Regions from separate parts of the Homo sapiens genome. Here region 2 is linked to region 1. The links are contacts of gene promoters, found by promoter capture Hi-C in human tissues and cell types (Jung and others, 2019). All regions are on one chromosome and are shown on one strand. The core of a region is centred on a gene start or on the middle of the fragment in contact, and the rest is flanking DNA. Distances in the headings are between cores, read along the strand shown. Region 1 holds the start of CNBD2 (cyclic nucleotide binding domain containing 2). Region 2 has its middle 28 kb from the start of NORAD.

Evidence for each region. Contacts are between HindIII fragments. The study calls those that stand out against the background at their distance.
Region 2: a contact is called between a fragment that was not itself captured here and the fragment with the promoter of CNBD2 in region 1, in 4 of the 25 tissues and cell types used here (IMR-90 fibroblasts, dorsolateral prefrontal cortex, lymphoblastoid cells and 1 more).

Annotation. Positions count from the first base shown.
Region 1 is chr20:35,964,921-35,970,530 of GRCh38, reverse strand. It overlaps CNBD2 (cyclic nucleotide binding domain containing 2), which reads right to left and starts at 1,941. Exons shown (of 12, transcript NM_001365709.1): 1 at 1,718-1,941. The coding sequence starts at 1,768. It also overlaps the pseudogene LOC124904982. The HindIII fragment of the contact is 12,223 bases long and covers 1-5,610 here.
Region 2 is chr20:36,076,428-36,082,037 of GRCh38, reverse strand. It overlaps the pseudogene HMGB3P2. Among named protein-coding and RNA genes, the nearest start is that of NORAD, 28 kb to the right of the region's middle. The HindIII fragment of the contact is 7,705 bases long and covers 1-5,610 here.

The sequences.
Region 1 (5,610 bases), core at 692-3,191:
CAGCTACTCAGGAGGCTGAGGCACCAGGAGCACTTGAACCTGGGAGGTGGAGGTTGCAGTGAGCTGAAATTGCGCCACTGCACTCCAGCCTGGGCAACAGAGTGAGACTCTGTCTCAAAAAAATAAATAAAAACAAACAAAGGAAAAAAGAGAATGTTCTTTTTAAAGTGTATCATAAACAAAGTGAGACAACGAACTACAGACTGGAAAAATATACTTACTATGCATATAATCAACAAAGGATTACGATCCAAAATTTATTTTTTGTAATCCTACAAATCAAAAGAAAAATACAAATAACCCAATAGCAAAATGAGCAAAGGTAATTCAAAGGGAAAGTTCAAATTACCTATAAATTGTGAAAATATTGTTTTTATTCATTTGTATTTATATTTACATTGTTTGTAAAGAGGGGGTTTCACTTTGTTGCCCAGGCTGGTTTCCAACTCTGGCTTCAAGTGATCCTTCCACCTCAGCCTCCCAAAGTGCTGGGATTACAGGCATGAGCCTTCATGCCCCAGCCAAATTGTGAAACCATTTTTAACATTGCTAGAAATAATGGAAATGGAAATTAAAGTAATAACATGATACTATTTTGCACTTATCACTGGGAACTGGGAAACATGGTACAACCATGTTGAAGAGCAATTTGGCAACATTATATAAAGTTGAGGATGTGTGTACTTCACAATGGAAGAATTGTATGTACTTTATATGTCCTCTTCAGAGAAACATACATGTACAAGGGGATAGCCATGAGGGTAATCATGGCAACATTGTGTGTAACAGTGAATGGCTGAAAACAAATGTTCATTAGTAGGGATCGAAGGGATCAATACATTATGGTTCAGTCACAGGATTGAACACAGCACTAAGTCTGTGTGTGTCAATGTGGATAAAGCTGAAATGATTTTGAGTGGGAAAAAAGAACTATGATGCTATTTATGGTATCATTTTTAAACAGTGTGCCACATACTATATATTGTTTATGGATACATACACATGTGATAATATATAAAAATATAAACAGGAAGGGTGACACCAACTTCAGGAAAGTGGTTACTATTAAAGAGAAATAAAGGGGCATGGGATGGTAAAGAGCTTTCCCTACACCTGTAATGTTCTATTTCTTAAAAATTAGATATCTATGGAAATATGGGGAAAGGTACTTTATGAATAAAATTAATACTTACTGAGTACAATTTACTATTGTCAGGCATTATCCAAAGCACTATTCTGATATGTAAATCATTTAATCAGTAAATTTATGCAGTAGGTACTAGTATTATCATCTCACTTTACAGAGGAGAAAATAAAGGCACAGCAAACCAAGCAACTTGCCTGGGGTCACATGACTAATAGGTGATAGGGATTTAAACCTAGGTAGTCTGGCTCCAGAGTTCACAAGCTTAACCTATGACTCAATGTTGCTACCCTGACTCTATCCTCCCTCGTTCTCTCTGGATCTCATAATAGCAGGAAGAGTGGGTACAGAACAGGACTCAGTGGCTCTGAGTGTGGCTTATGGCTTGCCCAGTGTGGGGGGCTGGTAGGCTACAGGGCAGGGGTCCCTCCTTTGTGCCATGCTGTGACTCCAAAAGGTACAGGATGGCCACCATTCATCCAAGACCCCTCCTACACCTGCATCGACCTTCCTCAAAACACCTGTCTGTTCAGTCTTCTGCTCTTCCCTCCCAGGGCCCTTGCCCCTCCTCACCAGTTCCTTCTTCAGGAGCTGCCAGGCATAAGTTACCATATGTCTCCTCATGGTTCCTGTGCAGGCAAATGGCACAACTAGCCCCTTTGCCTTTCAAGGGGAGGACTACAAATTTTTCCCCAAAAATCCAGTAATACTAGAAACAAATAGATTTCCTCAGTAACAAGGCAAGAGCTCCACTCCACTCCTCCTACCATACCATCAGCTACTGGAAGCCCTGCTCTGAGAAAAATCATTCTCAGAATCTCCTAAGGTCACAATGAAAGATTCTGGAGGCAGGGGACACAGGGATTGGAATGTGGGAGTCTAACATTTATGGGATACTCACAGGCATTATCTCAGCTAATCCTCACAACCACCCAAACTTTTACTCAACTCCATACATAGGAGACTGGGGCTCAAAGTAGCTAAATGGCTGCCAGAGTCCTGGTGAGACAGGAGAATGGCACAACCCTGCTGACCAAAACAGGATCTAGGACCCCCTAGCTGTCCCCATCCCTCATTAACATAAGACACTCCTACCAGTGCCATGACAGTGTACAAATGTCTTGGCAATGACCAGGAAGTTGCTACCTCTTTCCTAGAAAACTCTAAAAACCCACTCCTTAATTTGCATTAACCTGCCCCTTAATTTGCATTAGCCTGCCCCTTAATTTGCATGTGATTGAAAGTGGGTAGGAATGCGTATACTACACTTGATCTCAGCCAAAAGGCTGAGAAGGGATTAGAGATGAGCATAAATACAGTTGCCAACATCTCATACACTGGGTATCGACTCCGGATTCATTGCCCATGAGTTAGCCCTGCCCCACAAGGAGAAGCACTATTCAATAAAAGATTGCTGTCTAACACCACTGGCTCACCCTTGAATTCCTTCCTTGGGCAAAGCCAAGAACTCTCCTAAGCTAAGTCTCAATTTGGGGGCTCACCTGTCCTGCAAAGATAGGGCTTTTTTGTTTTTTGAGACACTGTCTCACTTTGTTCCCAGGATGGAGTGCAGTGGCCCAATCTCAGCTCACTGCAACCTCTGCCTCCCAAATTCAAGTGATTCTCCTGCCTCAGCCGCCCAAGTAGCTAGGATTACAGGCGTGTGCCACCATGCCCGGCTGATTTTTGTATTTTTAGTAAAGACAGGCTTTCACCACGTTGCCCAGGCTGGTCTCAAGCTCCTGACCTCAAGTGATCCACCCACCTCAGCCTCCCAAAGTGCCGGGATTACAGGCATAAACCACCACTCCTGGCCAGGGCCTTTTTTTTTTTTTTTTTTTTAAGAAAGCAGTGTAGCTAAATGTCAGGTACACTTGCTCTCCATTTGTAGCATCCAATTAACAGAAGCAAGGTCTGGTCCAGCCTGGCCAATGTGGTGAAACCCCATCCCTACTAAAAATACAAAAAAATTAGCCGGGTGAGGTGGTGGGCACCTATAATCCCAGCTACTCGGGAGGCTGAGGTGGGAGGATCACTTGAACCCGGGAGGCAGAGGTTGCAGTCAGCCAAGATTGTGCCACTGCACTCCAGCCTGAACGACAGAGCAAGACTCTGTCTCAAAAAAAAAAAAAAAAAAAAAAAAAAAAGCGGGAGGGGGAATTGGCATAAATGGCATGCAGAGGAGGGAATGAGCAGGTGGGAGTCTCCATGACTCACTTTGGTGCCTTATCTACCGCCTGGTCGAGCTGCCACCATCTTGGGCAGAACTAGGTTGTAAAGTGGCCTTGTCTCGAGATACTCTCCAGGTGGGGCAGAGTTTCCTGGCAGGCATACTTTTGGTTGTAAATTGACTATTGTCTCTCAAGGCAATCTGGTGGGAGAGGTTTCTACTCTGGAGCTTTTAAGTAAGCACACAGATACACTTGCTCTAGGAGTGTCTGGTGAAGGGAAAGCAAAAGGTTATAACTGCATTTCTAATCAGCTAAGTAGGAAGTGGGGAACAGAAGAAAAACACAAAAGAGAAAGAAGAAAAAGATGATTTAAAAAGATAACTCATTCTCTATCTCATAGAAAAATGGGTGTACTTTGTTACAGCGGGAGGCTTCTAGGCTGGGAGTAGGTTCATCCAGCACCTTAGCCCAGGGACCACTCTGAGACTTAGAACTTGGAGGCCCTGGAACGTGGGTGCATAGTACTGTCCCATAAGTCTGGTTAAATCAGGACAATAAAAAAAAAACTCAGCAAAACAGAAGACCTCACCCAAATCAAGTGTCAAATATTGAATGGAACTTGGTGACTAGAACTCAAATCTCTGGAGTCCTTCTAAAGATATAGAAAAATATAGGCTCTAAAGTGCTTTTTTCTATTAAAGATGACAATTGAGTATCTCAATTTGCTCTTGCACCAGGATCCTCAGTAGAAAACTGTGATTTCAAGCATCACCTGCTCTGCCATTCCTATCCCGTGGGGTATATCTGTTAACTCTCCTCCAACTGATAGGTAGACAGAAGGACACTGAGTTCAGCAAAGATGGCTGGACAGCTGAGAAGAAAGACAAAGGCCACTCTTGGGGTGGGACAGTAATCACACACAGAGGTGAGAAGGGACAAAACTGGTTTTTCCCCCATACCATGAGAAAAGATGTAAAGAATTCAGAGAGAGAAAGAAGAGAAAGTTTTAGAAAGAGAGACAGAGAGATGAGGTATGGAGTTTTTGCCTCCCCCACTGCAAACCTAGTCTTAAGGAAGGAAATATAAGAGGATCCCCTTCAAAAGTGTAGGGGGCTTCTGAAAGAAACAACTGGGCCTGGAGAAAGCAAGAGAGATGGTAGGAGATGGCTATAGGCAGGAAGGGTGTCCCGTCAGTCCTCTGAACTGCCTGAGGATCCAAGAGTGACAAGGAAAGTATCCAGGCTCACAAGGGGCATCAGATGATGCCAGTACGACCTGATGAGACCCCAAAAATGTTTACTGCCAACCTCACCTCTTGCCAGCTGTGGTTGTACAATTTCTCTAGGAATTAGATCAGCTTTGGGGAAGAAGAAGCAGGAAGTTTGGAGAGCTATGAATGGGCCCAAGATGAATCAATAAGCCTGAAATTATATCCACTCAAAATTACTGGATTGGATCTCAATTTACCTGAAGACATCCTAAATTCAATTATCTGCAAGGAGGTGGGCTGGGGATTCAGAGTCACACATTTAAGTCAGTTCTAGAAACTAAGAAAGTTTCATTTCTCTTACAGTTCCTGATTTTATAACTGTAACTATTACAGGGTAGAATGCCAAAAAGAGCACTGGTCCTATTCCTATGTGATCTTAGGTAAGTCACTTAACTACTTGGGGCCTCATTTTCATAATGTATAAAATGGAGTTCGATTCAATTCCACAAACAATTTATGAGAAGATTCGGCCAAGCGCGGTGGCTCATGCCTGCAATCCCAACACTTTGGGAGGCTGATGCGGGTGGATCACCTGAGGTCAGGAGCTCAAGGCCAGCTCGTCCAACATGGTGAAACCCAGTATCTACTAAAAATACAAAAACTAGCCCAGTGTGGTGGCATGCACCTGTAATCCCAGCTACTCGGGAGGCTGAGGCGGGAGCATCATCTGAGCCTGGGAGGCGCAGGTTGCAGTGAGCCAAGATTGCACCACTCAAGCCTAGGTGACAGAATGAGACTCCGTCTCAAAAAAAAAAAAAAAAAGAGAGAGAGGGAGAGAGAAGATTCTTATTGTTTTGCTGATTATAAAAGCTATACAACAAATGCTTACAAAGCATATGAAGGTGAATAAGATGTGGTCCCTGCTTACCAGGAGTTCACAATATGGTGGGGAAGTAAAATCCTCAGAGAAAGTCTTGCTATAATAAAGCTATGAAAGATATATGAGGCCGGGCATGGTGGCTCACGTATGTAATCCCAGCACTTTGGGAGACCAAGGTGGACAGATCACGAGGTCAAGAGATTGA
Region 2 (5,610 bases), core at 1,161-3,660, 110 kb before region 1:
TAATGAAATACTACACAGCAGTGAGTGGTAGGAATATGGATAATTCACCGGGCACAGTGGCTCACACCTGTAATCCCAGGACTTTGGGAGGCCAAGGCAGGCAGATCACTTGAGGTCGGGAGTTGGAGACCAGCCTGAACAACATGGTGAAACTCTGTCTCTACAAAAAAATACAAAAATTAGCTGGGTGTGGTGGTGGGCACCTGTAATCGCAGCTGCTCGGGAGGCTGAGGCAGGAGAATCACTTGATCCCTGGAGGCAGAGGTTGCAGTGAGCCGAGATCACACCCTGCACTCTAGCCTGGGCGACAGAGCCAGACTCTGTCTCAAAAAAAAAAAAAAAAGAATATGGATAATTCTCAAAAACATAATGTTGGTAGGAAAAAAGAATATTGCAGAGGATGCAACTTATGTGATGTATATTAAGCTTAAAAACATACAAAGCAATGCTATATATTGTTTAGGGATACTCATACATTTGTTAAAAGTTATAAAGACATGTATTACTGCTATGCTCTGAATGTTTGTGTGTCCCCAAGAGTCATACATTGAAACGTAATCCCAAATGTGACAGTGTTAGAAGATGAGGCCTTTAGGAGATGATTGGGTACCCTCATGAATGGGATTACTGCCCTTATAAAAGAGACCTAAGAGAGCTAGCTGGTCCCTTCCACCATGTGAGGTCACCGTAAAAACGTGAAGTCTGTGAGAAAGTAGGCCCTCACCCCATTGATCTTGGCCTTCCCAACCTCCAGAACTGTGAAAAATAAGTTTCTGTTGCGTATAAGATACTCAGTCTAAAGTATTTCGTGATAGCAGCCCAAATAAATGAAGACAATTGCCATGATAAACACCAACTTCACGGTAGTGGCCACTTCTGGGTAGAGAGGGAGGGGAATGGGATGGAAGAACAGTACATAGGAAATTGCAATGGTATTTGTAACAGTTTTTTTCTGGAATTAGGTAGTATGTACATGGGTGCCTACTATCATATACTGTACTTTTTCTTGAGATATAATTAACATATAAAATTAATCATTTTAAAGTGTGCAATTTAGTTGGTTTTTAGTATATCCACAAAGTTGTGAAACCATCACCACTCTCTAATTCCAGAACATTTCATCACCCCCAAAAAGAAATCCCATGCCTATTGAAACTGCCTTTGCAAAATTATGACTGAGACAGTGAAAGAGATCTAACTTAATCGACTCTACATGCTTCTAACCTCCAAGCTGTCCTTGTTCATTCCTAGGCATAGACTGAACTAACTTTGGGAGAAACTTAGTTTATAGTTTTTATAGGTTTTTTTTGTTTTTGTTTTGATACGGAGTCTCACTCTGTCACCCAGGCTGGGGTTCAATGGCATGACCTCGGCTCACTGCAACCTCCACCTCCTGGGTTCAAGCGATTCTTCTGCCTCAGCCTCCTGAATAGCTGGGATTACAGGTGCCCACCACCACACCCGGTTAATTTTTGTATTTTTGGTAGAGGCAGCATTTCACCATGTTGGCCAGGCTGGTCTCAAACTCCTGACCTCAAGTGATCCACCTGCCTCAGCCTCCCAAAGTGCTGGGATTACAGGCATGAGCCACCGTGCCTGGACGTAGTTTATAGTTTAAAACAAAGACGATAACAGCCCTTTCCAAAAGCAGACCTCTTTCTTGCCTGGAGACTAGATTGCCTTCGTAGGACTAATATTAGCCATAAGATTAGAAATTAAGGTTTAGGAGTCATGCAGCTGGAGGCTACAAGATTCTGACCCTCTCTAAACTGCTCCTAAGATCAATGCTTGAGATATTTTGCAGACCTGCACTTGATGGATCAGCTGGCACCACCCAGATTGATAAACTGGCTCATCTGATCTCGTGACCCCCATCCAGGAAGTGACTCAGCTCAAGAAGACAGCTTCGACTCCCTGTGATTTCATCCCTGACCATTCAGCACTCCTGGCTCACTGGCTTCCCCCAACCCACCAAGTCGTCCTTAAAAATTCTGCTCCCCGAATGCTTGGGGAGACTGATTTGAGTAATTATAAAACTCTGGTATCCCGCACAGCCGGCTCTGCATGAATTACTCTTTCTCTATTGCAATTTCTCTGTCTTGATAAATCGGCTCTGTCTTGGCAGTGGGCAAGGTGAGCACACTGGGCAGTCACACTATTAACCGTTATTCCCCATTCCCAACTTCCTACTATCCCTTGGCAACCACTAATCTACTTTCTGTCTTGATTTATTCATATAAATGGATCATACAATATATGTTATTTTGTGATTGGTTTCCCTCATTTAGCGTAAGATTTTCAAGGTTCATCCATGTTGTAGTGTGAATCAGTGTTATTCCTTTTTATGGCTGAATAATAGTCCACTGTATGGATATACCACATTTTGTTTAGCTATTCGTCAGTGGATGGACATCTGGGTTGTTTCTACCTGCTGGCTATAAGAAATAATAACACGATAAACATTGTGTACAAGTTTTTGTGTGAACGTACATTTTCTTTCTTTTTTTTTTGAGACGAAGTCTCATTCAGTCACCCAGGCTGGAGTGCAGTGGTGCAATCTCGGCTCACATCTCAGCTCACTGCAAGCTCTGCCTCCCGAGTTCAAGTGATTCTTCTGCCTCAGCCTCCCGAGTAGCTGGGAGGCATGCACCAACACTCCTGGCTAATTTTTTTGTATTTTTAGTAGAGATGGGGTTTCACCATGTTGGCCAGGCTGGTCTCAAACTCCTGACCTCAGGTGATCCACCCACCTCGGTCTCTCAAAATGCTGGGAATACAGGCGTGAGCCACCACAGCCAGTGCCCCCCACCTCCCTTTTTTTTTTTTTTTTTTTTTTTTTTTTGAGACGGAGTTTTGCTCTTGTTGCCCAGGCTGGAGTGCAATGGCGAGATCTCAGCTCACCGCAACCTCTGCCTCCCAGGTTTAAGTGATTCTCCTGCCTCAGCCTCCCGAGTAGCTGGGATTACATGCATGTGCCACCATGCCCAGCTAATTTTATATTTTTAGTAGAGATGGGGTTTCTCCATGTTGGTCAGGCTGGTCTCAAACTCCTGACCTCAGGTGATCCGACCACTTCGGCCTCTCAAAGTGCTAGGATTACAGGCATGAGCTACCATGCCCAGCCTCCATTTTTGTTTTGTTTTGTTTTTTGTGTTTTTGTTTGTTTGTTTTGAGACAGTGTCTCACTCTGTCGCCCAGGCTAAAGTGCAGTGGCGTGATCTCTGCTCACTGCAACCTCCATCTCCCTGGTTCAAATGATTCTCCTGCCTCAGCCTCCCGAGTAGCTGGGCTTACAGGTGCCTGACACCACGCCCAGCTAATTTTTGTATTTTTAGTACAGACGGGGTTTCATCTTGTTGGCCAGGCTGGTCTCGAACTCCTGACCTCTAGTGATCTGCCCACCTTGGCTTCCCAAAGTGCTGGGATTACAGGCGTGAGCCACTGTGCCCCGCCTATGAACATACATTTTCATTTCTCTTGGATATACGCCTAGCAGTGGAATTGCTGGGTCATGTGGTAACTCTGTTTTACTTTTTGAAGAACTTCAAAGCAGCGATACTATTTGACAGTCCCCCAGCAATATATGAAGGTTCACTTTCTTCACATCCTTACTAACATTTTTTTTTGAAACGGAGTCTTGCTTTGTCACTCAGGCTGGAGTGCAGTGGCTCGATTTCTGCTCACTGCAACCTCTGCCTCCCCGGTTCAAGTGATTCTCCTGCCTCAGCCTCCTGAGTAGCTGGGATTACAGGCGCACACCACCATGCCCAGCTAATTTTAAAAATATTTTTAGTAGAGACAGGGTTTCACCATGTTGGTGAACATGATGAGAACATTTCCAGGGGAAAACCATTTCCCTTCTGGCTCCCCAACTCCCCCATCTGCTGAGAGCTAGTTCTACTCAATAAAACCTTGCACTCATTCTCCAAGCCCACATGTGATCCAGTTCTTCCAGGTACAACAAGGCAAGAAACCCCAGGATACAGAAATCCCTCTGTCCTTGTGGTAAGGAAGGGGGTTTAATTGAGCTGGTTAACACAAGCCGCCTATAGATGGCAACCTAAAAGAGCACCCTATAACACACGCCCATTGGGGCTTCAGCTGTAAACATTCACCCCTAGACACTGCTGTGGGGTCGGAGCCCCACAGCCTGCCCATCTGTATGCTCCCCTAGAGGTTTGAGCAGCAGGGCACTGAAGAAGCAAGCCACACCCCCATTGCACACCCTTCGAGGGTTCCTGTTTCACCGTCTCTACAAAAAATTTTTAAATATTAGCCAGGTGTGGTGGTGTGTGCCTGTAGTCCTAGCTACCCAGGAGGCTGAGGTGGGAGGATCACTTGTGCCTGGGAGGTTGAGGCTGCAGTGAGCTATGATCCCAACACTGTACTCTGTCTCAAACAAACAAACAAAAATAAATACAAACGTTGTATGATTCCACTCATATGAAGTATCTAGAATAGGTAAATTCGTAGAGACAGAAATTAAAATAAATAGAGGTTACCAGAGGCTGAGGGAAGGGGAAAATGGGGAATGTTGTTTAATGGGTACAGAGTGTCTGTTTGGGATGATGAAAAAGTTCTGGAAATAGGAAGTGGTGATGATTACACTACTTTGTGAATGAACTTAATGTCACTGAATTGTATACTTAAAAATAGTTAAAATGGGTGAGGTGTGGTGGCTTACGTCTGTAATCCCAGCACTTTGGGAGGCCAAGGCTGGCAGATTACCTGAGATCGGGAGTTCGAGACCAGCCTGTCCAACATGGCGAAACCCCGTCTGTACTAAAAATACAAAAATTAGCTGGGCGTGGTGGCCCGTGCCTGTAATCCCAGCTACTCGGGAGGCTGAGGCAGGAGAATCGCTTGAAACCGGGAGGCGGAGGTTGTGGTGAGCCGAGATCGCACCACTGCACTCCAGCCTGGCGACAGAGGGAGGCTCTGTCTCAAAAAAAAAATTTTTTTTAAGTTTGCCGGGTGTGGTAGCTCACACCTGTAATCCCAGCACTTTGGGAGGCCGAGGCAGGCGGATCACGAGGTCAGGAGATTGAGACCATCTTGGCTAGCACAGTGAAACCCCGTCTCTACGAAAAATACAAAAAATTAGCCGGGCGTGGTGGCGGGTGCCTGTAGTCCCAGCTACTCGGGAGGCTGAGGCAGAAGAATGGCGTGAACCCAGGAGGCAGAGCTTGCAGTGAGCCGAGATCGCGCTACTGCACTCCAGCCTGGGTAACAGAGCGAGACTCCCTCTCAAAAAATAAAAAATAAAAAAAAAGTTAAAATGGGGCCGCCACCGCAGCGCCTGCAGAACTTTCGGGCCACGTCGCCGCCTCCTGCTGCTTCGCCTCCCAGGGCCCTCCCTCTCCTCCCCACGCCCTTCACTCCCCTCCGCCTTCCCTCCTGCTAGGCGGCCGGGAAGGAAGAAGAAATTCAGTCAGGATGGCTAAAGGTGACACCAAGAAACCAAAGGGAAAGATGTCTGCTTATGCCTTCTTTGTGCAGATGTGCAGAGAAGAACATAAGAAGAAAAACCCAGAGGTCCTTGTCAATTTTGCAGAATATTCCAGGAAGTGCTCCGAGAGGTAGAAGACCATGTCTGGGAAAGAGAAGTCT